3 separate regions of the Homo sapiens genome follow, and all the other regions are linked to region 1. Evidence: promoter capture Hi-C in 16 types of primary human blood cells and fetal thymus (Javierre and others, 2016). All regions are on one chromosome and are shown on one strand. Each heading gives the region's core, a stretch centred on a gene start or on the middle of the fragment in contact. The rest is flanking DNA. Distances are from core to core; before and after follow the strand shown. Region 1 holds the start of ZNF625-ZNF20 (ZNF625-ZNF20 readthrough (NMD candidate)). Region 2 has its middle 9.6 kb from the start of ZNF439. Region 3 overlaps ZNF709 (zinc finger protein 709).

Region 1 (3,712 bases), core at 760-3,259:
TCTCGAACTCCTGACTTCGTGATCCGCCCGCCTCGGCCTCCCAAAGTGCTGGGATTACAGGCGTGAGCCACCGCGCCCAGCCGGCAGCAATATTTTATAAAGGAATCAAAAGAAAAGTAAAGCAAACATTTGAAGTAGTTCAGATAAGCAGCCTGCTTCATGCACAGTTCACAAGGAAAACCCTCTGTCAGAAGGTAAATGATATTTCCAAGCTTGGAAGCCAAACTGTGACTGCTGAAATGGAGCCCCCCAGGGCGGGTCAGTCCCAGATGATGAGGCAGAGAAAATTAAGGATTTATCTGGGAGTTTGAAATGCCCTTCTGTCCCCTCCTCAGTTTAGAAATTATTCTCTCCTTTAAGACCTTCATTTTCACCAACAGGAAGCTCTCGACTTGAGTCAGTTTAAGCTAAATTTACTGTTAAATTCATAAACCCGCAGGGCGCGGTGGCTCACGCCTGTAATCCCAGCACTTTGGGAAGCCGAGGCGGACGGATCACGAGGTCAGGAGATCGAGACAATCCTGGCTAACACGGTGAAACCCCGTCTCTACTAAAAATACAAAAAATTAGCCGGGCGTGGTGGCAGGCGCCTGTAGTCCCAGCTACTTGGGAGGTTGAGGCAGGAGAATGGCATGAACCCGGGCGGGAGGCGGAGCTTGCAGTGAGCCGAGATTGCGCCACTGCACTCCAGCCCGGACGACAGAGCGAGACTCCGTCTCAAAAAAAATGATAATAAATACAATAAAATAAAATAATAAATAAAAATTCATAAACCCTTTCTCCAGGAGGCATCCCAAATGGGTCTTGCTCTAATTCTGACCTTCACAGATTTTCTTTTTCTTTTTCTTTCTTTTTTTTTTTTGAGACAGTCTAGCCCTGTCGCCCAGGCTGGAGTGCAGTGGCGCAATCTCGGCTCACTGCAAGCTCCGCCTCCCGGGTTCACGCCATTCTCCTGCCTCAGCCTCCCGAGTAGCTGGGACTATAGGCGCCCGCCACCGCACCCGACTAATTTTTTGTATTTTTAGTAGAGACGGGGCTTCTCCGTGTTAGCCAGGATGGTCTTGATTTCCTGACCTCGTGATCCGCCCGCGTCGGCCTCCCAAAGTGCTGGGATTATAGGCGTGAGCCACCGCTCCCGGCCGTAAAGATTTTTAAATAATAAAAACAGGGGTCTAGGGTGGGGGGATGTGGGAGGGATAACATTAGGAGATATACCTAATGTAAATGACGAGTTAATGGGTACAGCACACCAACATGGCGCATGTATACATATGTAACAAACCTGCACATTGTGCGCATGTACCCTAGAACTTAAAGTTTAATAAATAAAAATTAAAAAAAAAAAACAACAAAACAGGGGTATTCTTGTGTTGACCAAGTTGGTCTTTAACTCTTTACTTTAAGGGATCCTCCAGTCTTGGCCTCCCAAAGTGCTAGGATTACAGGCGTGAACCACCGCACCCTGCCTGTGTTCAGGTCACAATCTCTTCTAGCTTGGATAAAGGGAAAGAAATAAAGGGGGAGAGGGCATGGTTTCATCAATGGAGATTCTCTGCAGATGCAAATTCCCCCCCTCCAAAGACAGCTTTGCCAGTCCACTTTTTTTTGCGGCCGAGCCACAGCCATTTCAAAATCTGTCAAATAAATATATTTTGGCGTAAAATATTTTAATTTCCTTCACCTCCACTGGACTCTGAGTCTGGAATTTCCTGTGCAAGACAAAGGAGCAGGGACAGCCCATTGAGTGAGGAAGACAACGGTACCCCCTCTAGCAATTCGGAGCAAATTTGGCTGAAATGCAAATACCCAAAGAGCAAGACGCAGGGAGGGAGCTCGCTTAGATAATCTGTGGTTGGAACAGGTCATTTCGGTTCTGCCGGGCCTTGTTACCCAGGGCTTCCGCTGTCACTCAGGACCGATGGGACGGGGACTGGAGCCTCATCCAATCAGGGGCGCTGGGGCGGGGTCCTGCCAACTGTCCATCCGGGGAAGGGGAGGCCGCATTCCCGCTTTCCTGACTCCCAGGCGTCTTGCACCAAAGGGAGGTCGGGATCTCGGTTTTCCGGCCCCGAGAGGGACCAGGTGCCTCCGCCATAGCTTCTGTCGCTCCATCGCCCGCACTGTGACTGGACTGTTAGAGGGATCCGTGGAGAGGAGGCCAGGACACCTGGAAGCCGGGAAATGGTGAGTGTGCGGGGCCGGGGGTCCCGAGACGGGGGAGGGGCCGGGAGGAACCGGCTCGAACCGGCTCTAGCAGGACCCAGGCCTTCCTGCAGCGACTTCGGGTCTGCAGAGCGGAGTCCCCCTGGCGTAGCTCGGCCCTCGGTCCCTTCGGCCGCAGGGTGGGGTTGGGCCGGCAGCCGGGACCCCAGGCGTCCTGTCCCGTCTCTGCGCTGCGACTGCGACCCCGGCCCTGGCCCCGGCCCCGGAGCCCTCTCTGGGGAGCTCCGCGCCCGTAGTCCCGCGTCTCCCCAGATTGTGCGGAGACCACGGGAGGGTCATGGAGGCAATCCTGCCTCGGGTGTGTGGTTCGTGTGGGAGGAGCGGTGGGCTGCGGGGTCCCCAGTCCCCCCTTTTTTCCTGAAAAACTAAATTGAAGGCCAGGCGCAGTGGGTCACGCCTGGCAGGTTGAGGCGGGGGGATTGCTTCAGCCCAGAAATTCGAGACCAGCCTAGGCAACATACCGAGACCCTAGTTTCTATTAAAAATAAATTTTTAAAAAATGAGCCGGGCGTGGTGCCGCCCACCTGTAATCCCAGCTACTGGGGGGCTGAGGTGGGAGGATCGCTTGAGGGAGGAGATTGGGACTGCAGTGAGCCGAGATCGCGCCACTGCACTCCAGCCTGGGCGACTGAGCGAGACCCTGTCTCAAACAAAACAAAACAAAAACAACAGCAACAAACTAAACTGAGTCCTCTTAAAAATTAAAGAGTTTTGCTTCTCAGAATAGGAGTTTGAAAAAAATGAATGAGAAATGTTTCCTGAATGAGAAACACCCAGTCATGGCTTGCAGTTTGATAACGGAAAGAGCAAAACTCTGCAAAATAACTTGAACTATGTTCTACGCCGAATATGAGAGAACGTGACCAAGGGAAACAACCGCATGTAGCCTCGAGTAAGTGGTCCCCAGGAGGTTCGATGGCAGTTTGGTTTTATTCATTTCAGCGAGACAGGAATTGCAGGGAAAAGATCAATCAAGGCATGGAAGGCTGACAGGGCAGGACACGTAGAAGCGGGGCTTAGAAGGCACAGGTGGTTGAGGGATTCTGTAGTTGGCAGTTGGCTGAGAGTGTGAAGTTGTGTCTAAAATTTGAAAGGGGTAGGAAGGAATGTTTAAGTGAAGGGAGTCTGTTACCTGCCACGTGATTCCATCCCCACCAAAAAACAGATATGTTTCACTAGATTTTATGAATTCTAAGGCGTGACTTTACCCTTGCCTTGCATGGCCTTAGGTCTTGTTTGCAATTTAGTATTTATTGGTACAAAGGGTTTCTTTGCAGGTTTTTTTTTTTTTTTGAGATGGAGCCTCACTCTCGCCCAGGCTGGAGTGCAGTGGCGCAATCTCGGCTTACGGCAACCTCCGCCTCCTAGGTTCAAGCAATTCTCCTGCCTCAGCCTCCCAAGTAGCTGGAATTACAGGTGCACGCCACCATACCCGGCTAATTTCTGTATTTTTAGTAGAGATGGGGTTTCACCATGTTGGCCAAGCTGG
Region 2 (4,083 bases), core at 1,464-3,963, 320 kb after region 1:
GACAGGGTTTCTCCATGTTGGCCAGGATGGTCTTGAACTCCTGACCTGGGGTGACCTGCCTGCCTCAGCCTCCTGAAGTGCTGGGATTACAGGTGTGAGCCACTGGGCCTGGCCTTATTTAAAATTTTTTTTTACTTACAAGTTCAGTACCTAGACTCCTTTTATGACCTCTCCTAATGGCAAGCTGACGTCTTTATTTTTTTTCTTTGATACAGAGTCTTGCTCTGTCACCAGGCTGAAGTGCAGTGGCATGATCTCGGCTGACTGCAACCTCCGCCTCCCATGGTCAAGCGATTCTCCTGCCTTAGCCTCCTGAGTAGCTGGGACTACACGCATGTGCCACTACACCCAGCTAAATTTTGTATTTTTAGTACAGACAGGGCTTCACCATGTTGGCCAGGATGGTTTCAATCTCTTGACCTCATCATCAACCTGCCTGGGCCTCCCAAAGTGCTGGGATTACAGGCGTGAGCCACCGTGCTCAACCCGCAGGACAAGCTGGCTTCAAGGTCTAGAATTAAAAGTTATTTCTTACCTAAACTCACATTTGTTTCACTACAAATGTCTAGGAAAAGCCCCATGACAAAAATTATCACTTGTGGAGGGCATCACTGACTACCGTATCTGCCTGTGGATCCCTAGCTTTCCAAGGATCTCAGATTCTCTCAGTATAAAGGGCTCCTCCCATGGTCAATGTGAGTAGCTGGGGCACCTGCAGGGGAAGAACCAAGTGAGCTTTCTTTTTTTTTTTTTTTTCCTTTGAGACAGAGTCTAGCTCTGTCGCCCAGGCTAGAATGCAATGACATGATCTCAGCTCACTGTAACCTCCGCCTCCCGAGTTCAAGCGATTCTCATGCCTCAGCCTCCTAAGGGATGGGATTACAGGCGTGAGCCAATACACCCGGCTAATTTTTGTATTTTTAGTAGAGATGGGATTTCGTCATGTTGACCAGATTGGTCTCGAACTCCCGACCTCACATGATTTGCCCACCTTGGCCTCCCAAAGTGCTGGGATTATAAGTGTGAGCCAATGCGCCTGGTGTGAGCTTTCAATGACCTCTCTTTGTAGGCTTGTCATTGGCCTTAGCTTGCAGTCCCTGGACTCAGGCCTCTGTTTCAATGAGAAAATACCCACTGTTTGAAGAATCCAGCAAAATCTCTCAAACTCAGTTTATGTTTACAGGCAGGCAGGAATTTATAAGGCACTTACCTTTCATCCTCATCAGGGAAAATAAAAGTATCTAACCCTTTCAGTCAATAAACATATTGAGAAATGTGTTTACACTACTATGTAATTGCTCCTTCCCTGTGCATGTCAAAAAGATTCTCTTCCTTGTTCTTAGGCTGTAAATGATTAGAAAAGACAGAGAAGTGCCAGAGGTAGGATCCTTTTGAGACCACTACCCCTCCTTACAAAAAGTTAAAGCAGGCCGGCTGCAGTGGCTCACACCTGTAATCCCAGCACTTTGGGAGGCCGAGGCAGGCGGATCATGAGGTCAGGAGTTTGAGACCAGCCTGACCAACATGGTGAACTCCGTCTTTACTAAAAATACTAAAATTAGCCGGGCATGGTGGCACGTGCCTGTAATCCCAGCTACTCAGGAGTCTGAGGCAGGAGAATTGCTTGAACCCGGGAGGTGGAGGTTGCAGTGAGCTGAGATTGCGCCATTGCACTCCAGCCTGGGCGACCGAACAAGACTCCATCCAAAAAAAAAAGTTAAAGCAATCATCCTTGAAATTTGGTAGCTGCAACCTATCAAATCACTGAAATGTGTGCACCGGCCTTGTATGGAAAATGTCACCCTGTTAAGCTTCATTTTGCCCTATAGAAGAGAAGACTCAAATTCCCCGTGTTGGAGCACTGACCCCACTCTTCAGGATATCTGTTTCCCCAGTGGCTATCCTCAAACTATGTGCTCAGATAAACTCAGCATTTAATCATATTCTCTGAATCTTATTATCTTATTAAGGTGCACAATATTATTTCATTATTATTTCCATGATAACAAAGCACATACTACACATTAATCATATGTGAACACAAACATATGACAACAGTTGCCAGCCAGGTCTTACCCCACAGATAACAGGAAGAAGAAGAGTTATCCACCATTACAAGTTCCCCAACCTGCAAAGGAGGACTGGTATTTTGCTGAATCTTTGTAATTCACCAATTTATCTACTATACTTTATTGTGGAAGATTATTCATTTTCTCAAGCTGTAATAAAAGATTTTCTCTATTTCTTTTCCCAATCAGCATTCTCAACGCTATGCCCTGAAACTCTGTTACAAATCATCCAAAAATGGCCATGCACTGTGGCTCAAACTTGTAATACCAGCACTTTGGGTGTAGTGGTGTGTGCCTGTGGTCTCAGCTACTACGGAGGCTGAGGTGGGAGGATAGCTTGTGCCTGGAAGATGGAGATTGCAGTGAGCTGAGATTGTGCTACCTCATCCCAGTCTGGGCAACAAAGCCAGACCCTATCTTAAAAAAAAAAAAAGGAAAGAAAGAAAGAAAAAGAAATAAAGAAATCATCCACAAAAAAGGACAGACTTAAGAAATGTACTACACCACATCTGAAGAAGAAAAAAATTAAGAATTTTGAGACTGGGTGCGGTGGCTCACGCCTGTAATCCCAGCACTTTGGGAGGCCAAGGCTTGTGGATAACAAGGCCAGGAGTTCGAGACCAGCTTGGCCAATATCGTGAAACCCCATCTCTACTAAAAATACAAAAATTAGCCAGGTGTGGTGGCACGTGCCTGTGATCCCAGCTACTCAGGAGGCTGAGGCAGGAGAATCACTTGAACCCAGGAGGCAGAGGTTGCAATGCCCCGAGATCACACCAATGCATTCCAGCCTGGGTGAGAGAGCGAGACTTTGTCTCAAAAAAAAAAAATTTTTTTTTTGAAACAAATGCTATATAAGACTAATGATTTATTTCTGACATCTATTTTTATCTTGGCTCTGTGCAAAATTTTCTTATTTTTCCAGCTGTAGTGAAAATGCAATTTACAATTAATTTTAAAAATCTGAAGCTGCAATAAGTGAACAAATATATATATATATATATATATATTTTTTTTTTTTTTAGAAGGGCTCTCACTCTGTGGCCCAGGCCGGAGTGCAGTGCTGCAATCACAGTTCACTGCAGCATCAATCTCCCAGGCTCAGGTTATCCTTCTGCCTCAGCCTCCTGGATAGCTGGGAGTACAGGTACGTGCCACCATATCCAGCTAATTTTTTGTATTTTTTGTAGAGAAGAGGTTTTGTCATGTTGCCATGGCAGGTCTTGAGCTCCTGGGCTCAAGTGATCCTCCTTCCTTGGCCTCTGTGAGCCACTGTGTCCAGCAACAAATAATTCTTTACAAGGGAACAAACCCTGTCTGGGTATGGCGGCTCATGCTTGTAATCCTAGCACTTTCGGAGACTGAGCTGGGAGGATTGCTTGAGAAAAAGAATTAGATAACAGCCTGGGCAACATAGCATAATCCTGTCCCTATTACTTAAAAGTCTAAATAAAAGTCTGAAAAGCAGCATTTCCCACCTATTCTCTATGAGGGAGCCTTCATCTACATAACAAGGTCTCCTTAGCTACACAGGAGGTAAGCTTCTTCCTTTCCTCTTCCCTAATCTGTCTTGCCATTAAACCTGACTTACCCACCAAACCCGGGATTTTTTGGCCAGCCAAGTCTGCATTCTTTCTTGGCCTCAGAATGGTAATATAAGCTTTTTTGTCTTATTGTTGGGTGGGTCTTCATTCTGAAGGCTCCCATATATACATGTTAAATAAATTTGTATGACTCTTCTCCTATTAATCCAAGTTCCATGATCTGAAAAAATTTTTCCTGTCTTTTCACCTTATTTTATAAAAAAAGTGCAAGACCATGTATATCTAAAAATGAGCATTTTTGTATCTCAGAAATCAAGATATTTTCCATATATAACCAGAAAATGGTATTCATATTTAAAAATGTCCTAATATCAACACATTGAGGGATATTAAAACATCATTAATAGCGTAAAGTGGAATTCTGGAAGCTTAGCTTTGAATACATTTCATTTTGTCTGTTAAACATTGAA
Region 3 (3,791 bases), core at 987-3,486, 320 kb before region 1:
ATTAAGTAGTAAAATATGGCTTATTTAAATTTAGCTGTTTATTTTAAAGAAATCATGCATGTGGAAGTTAGAAAAAAATCCACAATAGTTGAGTCTAACTTGAAAAGACTCACTGCCAGCATATTCTGGTCCAGTCCAGCCAGGGCACTTGCTCTAGCCACCCCCCAAATACTCACTTTTGATAATTTTTTATTTTTTTTGAGATGGGGTCTTGTTCTGTTGCCCAGGCTGGAGTACAATGACATGATGATAGCTCATTGCAGCCTCAACCTCCTGGGCTCAAGTGATCTTCCCACCTCAGCCTCTTCAGTAGCTGGGACTACAGGTGTGTGCTGCCACTCCCAGCTAATTTTTAAATTTTTTGTAGTGATGGAGTCTTACTATGTTGCTCAGGCTAGTCTTGAACTCCTGGGCTCAGGCAATCCTCCTGCCTCAGCCTGTCAAAGCACTGGTGTTATAGGTATAAACCACTGTGCCTGGCCTTTTAATAATTTCTTAAGCATACTGTCAGTGTTTCTTTTTATAAAAATAAGCAATTGCAAATGCATGTTTTTCATACTCATGTTGGTTCTGTAATGAGTAGTTGGACTCTGCATGTTTTGATTTTGGCTGTGCACATCATAAGCGTCACCCTTCTCTCTTCTCCTCGTGCTGCACACCTGGGCAAGCTGAAAAAGTCTGGGAGCAGGAAATTCAAACCACAGAAGCTCCTGCCCTTGAGCAGGTACTCTCTTGTAGCCCCACCCCCAAACTACAATAAAAACCCAGGCCAGGAGGCTTTCTTTGCTCTCTGAAGCTATGTCACACCTGCTTGGGCAGCCTGCCCTGCTTTCCCCAAGACCTCAATGATCACAGTAGTGAGTCTTTTCATACCCTTTGGTGTCTGTTCTCCACGCTGTTATTAGTGTCAACATTGGAACGACACAGGAATTGTTACCATGAGCATGGTGTTCAGACATTGACTGTCACCCCATGGGTCTGTCTTCTCTTGCACTGAATTGCTACCTGCTCTGTTGCCTGATGGCCAGCATGCACTTTCAGCTGCTGCTTTCTGGGAAGCTACTACTTTGAGTTGTGCTACTCTGTGCTGCATGTTGAGCCCTGCCAAGTCTGGGTTCTATGTTTAGCCAACTGGAGTTGGCCGTTTTGATAATTCCTTGGCTTTTTTGAAGAGGAATATGAGATTTGATACTCCTTAAAGTGGTCCTGGGTAGTGTTTCTTGGCCTGGACTTATCTGTGTGTTTTAGAGTGAAGCTGTGACTGCTGCTGACCTGGCATACAAGGTGCTCATGGGAAAGACTACCTGCCAGAGCAGTCATTTTTGAAAAAGAGACAAAAGAGAGGGGGAAAGGCAGCTGTTAGATGGTGGGCCGAGTCCACACTCCTAATAGCACAGGGCTCCCAAGGACCCTTAAGTGTTGCTGCTGTTGCTCTATTGCAGCAAGGATGCTGACCCTCAGGATTATAGGGCACACTCATGTTTCCTCTGCAGCATTGCAAAGGGTTCATTCAAAGCCAGCTTAAGGCCCAGGTGCTTAAACTTTATAAAGCAACCATGAGGGACAGGCCCCTAAGCCTGATAATAGTGATTTGTGGCTCTCTGGAGGGAAAAGAACACCCCTCCCCTGTAGAGAGGATTTTGCTGTCAAAATATATCCAGGGACAAAAACAAAAACAAAACAAACATGTTAGGAAGGAAAGGAACAAAAGAAAAAAATGCTGAAAAAGAGGTCCACAATTTGACCCAATTGGAAATTCCAAATAGACTAAAGGAATTTAGACGGCAAAAAAGATAAAAGAGCCTCTATATCATAGGTTCTGTATTAATTTTAACATCTTATGTAATGTATTAATTAACACACTATAGGATTAGCCAATACAAGGGCTCAAATTATGGTTATACCTGGGAGACCCACTAAAATTTAAGCAAGGTATCCCCTGATAATCTTAAGGGAGTTACTGAATATAAAATAGAAGACAAATAAGTATGTCTCATCTTAGCCATCATAACTGTGCCTAAATTCCCCATGTTCATGGCACCCAGTGTCCTAAAATACGCCAGAATGAACAGGTAAACTCTAAACCAGTGAGTCATAAGTGAAATTTAAATTAAATCTTTGGCACTTACAAACTGGCTTGACAGAATGAGACCCTGTGGAACTTACTCCCCAGTTAAATTAGTTATGATGGCTCAATATAAATTGAACAGGGCCTTGAAGGGTTGAAAAGTATTATGTAAAACTTGTTTAGTGAGGAAGTGATTATTCCCCGTGCTTCTCGTTTTAAAAGTACAGTTTGGCCTTTCTTAAACTTGGAGAGAATGAATGGCAACCCACAATGGATTACCATAACCTTAATGCTGTGGTCCCACCCATTAAGCCCCTATACCAATATCCAACATGGAAATTACTGACACCATCCAGCTGATCTCACAGATTTCACCATCTCACAGGCTAATTATATAACTTTACCTAGTTTCCCAAGGGAACCTCAACAGCCTTGCTGTTGCACAGTCTTTGCAGGCAAAATCTGAACTGCATCCACCTTTCTCTAGAACACAGGTATGATATTACATTAATGACAGCCTTGTCTGAGGACATTGTTTTGGCATTCATTCAGGACACATAAATACTGAAAAAAAAAATAGAGCTTACAAAAAGTCCATTGCCCCATATATAAAATAAGAGACCTTTATGTTTTGGTTAAGTTCCTAAAAACCATTTGGTAAAAGGAGGGCCGCTCCATCCCTGACACTACTATGAAATAGCTATTGTCCCTCTGACTACCCACAGCATCTTCTAGGTTCTTTTGATGTTCTGGAGGCAACATATTCCTTGTTTATAAATTTTACTTAACCACTTTATGCTGTTAATTGCAAATTGGCCCACCTTAAGTGGGTCCCCCTACCGCAAAAGGCTCTAGAGTCTTTTTCATTCTCTTAACACAGAGCTTTCATAGAGAAGGAGCTTTTGCATTTTAATGAAGTCAAACTTACTGATTTATTTTGTATGGATTTTGCTTATATCTAAACATTTGTCACCAAACCCAGGGTCACCTAGATTTTCTTCATTAACTTTTAGTATCCTATAACTTTACTTTTTTTTTTTTTTTTGAGGCAAGTTCTCCCTCTTGCCCAGGCCAGAGTGCAGTAGTGCAATCTTGGCTCACTGCAGCCTCAACCTCCTGGGCTCAAGCACTCCTCCCACTTCAGCCTCCTGAGTAGGTGGGACTACAAGCGTGCACCACCACACCTGGCTAATTTTTGTATTTTTTGTAGAGATGGGGTCCTACTTAGTTGCCCAGGCTGGTCTCAAACTCCTGACTTCAAGCTATCCTCCTGCCATGGCCTCCCAGAGTGCTGGGATTACAGGCATGAGCCACTGCTCCTGGCCTAGATTTTACATTTAGTTCTGTGATCCATTTTGAGCCAGTTTTTGTTTAAGGTGTAACGTCTGTTTCTAGATTTGTGTTTTTTTCATTGTGTTTTGCATGTGGATGTTCAGTTTTTCCAACACTGTTTGTTGAAAAAGGCTATCTTTTTTCATTGAATTGCTGTTGGTCATTTGTTGAAAATCAGATGACTCAGTGAGTCTATACTATACTAATGTGAGTCTGTAAGAAGGCAATTGACTTTTGTATATTAAGATTATATCCTCAACCTCTAGTTTGAGGAGTTTGTTGTGGATTCTTTGAGATTTTCTACTTAGACAATCATGTCACATGCGACAAAGACAGTGATATTTCTTTGTTCCCAATCTATATCTCTTCTCTCCTCTCCTCCCCTCTCCTC

Evidence for each region. The method cuts DNA at HindIII sites, captures the fragments that hold promoters and counts their contacts. A CHiCAGO score of 5 or more calls a contact.
Region 2: a fragment that was not itself captured here is called in contact with the fragment with the promoter of ZNF625-ZNF20 in region 1 in 2 of 17 cell types (fetal thymus and M2 macrophages); the score reaches 5.6 in fetal thymus.
Region 3: a contact is called between a fragment that was not itself captured here and the fragment with the promoter of ZNF625-ZNF20 in region 1, in 1 of 17 cell types (erythroblasts). The highest score is 6.6, in erythroblasts.

The regions. Positions count from the first base shown.
Region 1 is chr19:12,155,028-12,158,739 of GRCh38, reverse strand. It overlaps ZNF625-ZNF20 (ZNF625-ZNF20 readthrough (NMD candidate)), which reads left to right and starts at 2,009. Exons shown (of 8, transcript NR_037802.1): 1 at 2,009-2,184. It overlaps ZNF625 (zinc finger protein 625), which reads left to right and starts at 2,006. Exons shown (of 4, transcript NM_145233.4): 1 at 2,006-2,184. The coding sequence starts at 2,182. RefSeq lists enhancers at 1,980-2,089, 1,652-2,343 and a silencer at 2,320-2,489. The HindIII fragment of the contact is 6,672 bases long and covers 215-3,712 here.
Region 2 is chr19:11,837,076-11,841,158 of GRCh38, reverse strand. No RefSeq gene overlaps it. Among named protein-coding and RNA genes, the nearest start is that of ZNF439, 9.6 kb to the left of the region's middle. The HindIII fragment of the contact is 1,799 bases long and covers 1,814-3,612 here.
Region 3 is chr19:12,475,712-12,479,502 of GRCh38, reverse strand. The region is part of intron 1 of ZNF709 (zinc finger protein 709); the gene reads left to right. Among named protein-coding and RNA genes, the nearest start is that of ZNF709, 7.2 kb to the left of the region's middle. The HindIII fragment of the contact is 6,195 bases long and covers 1-3,791 here.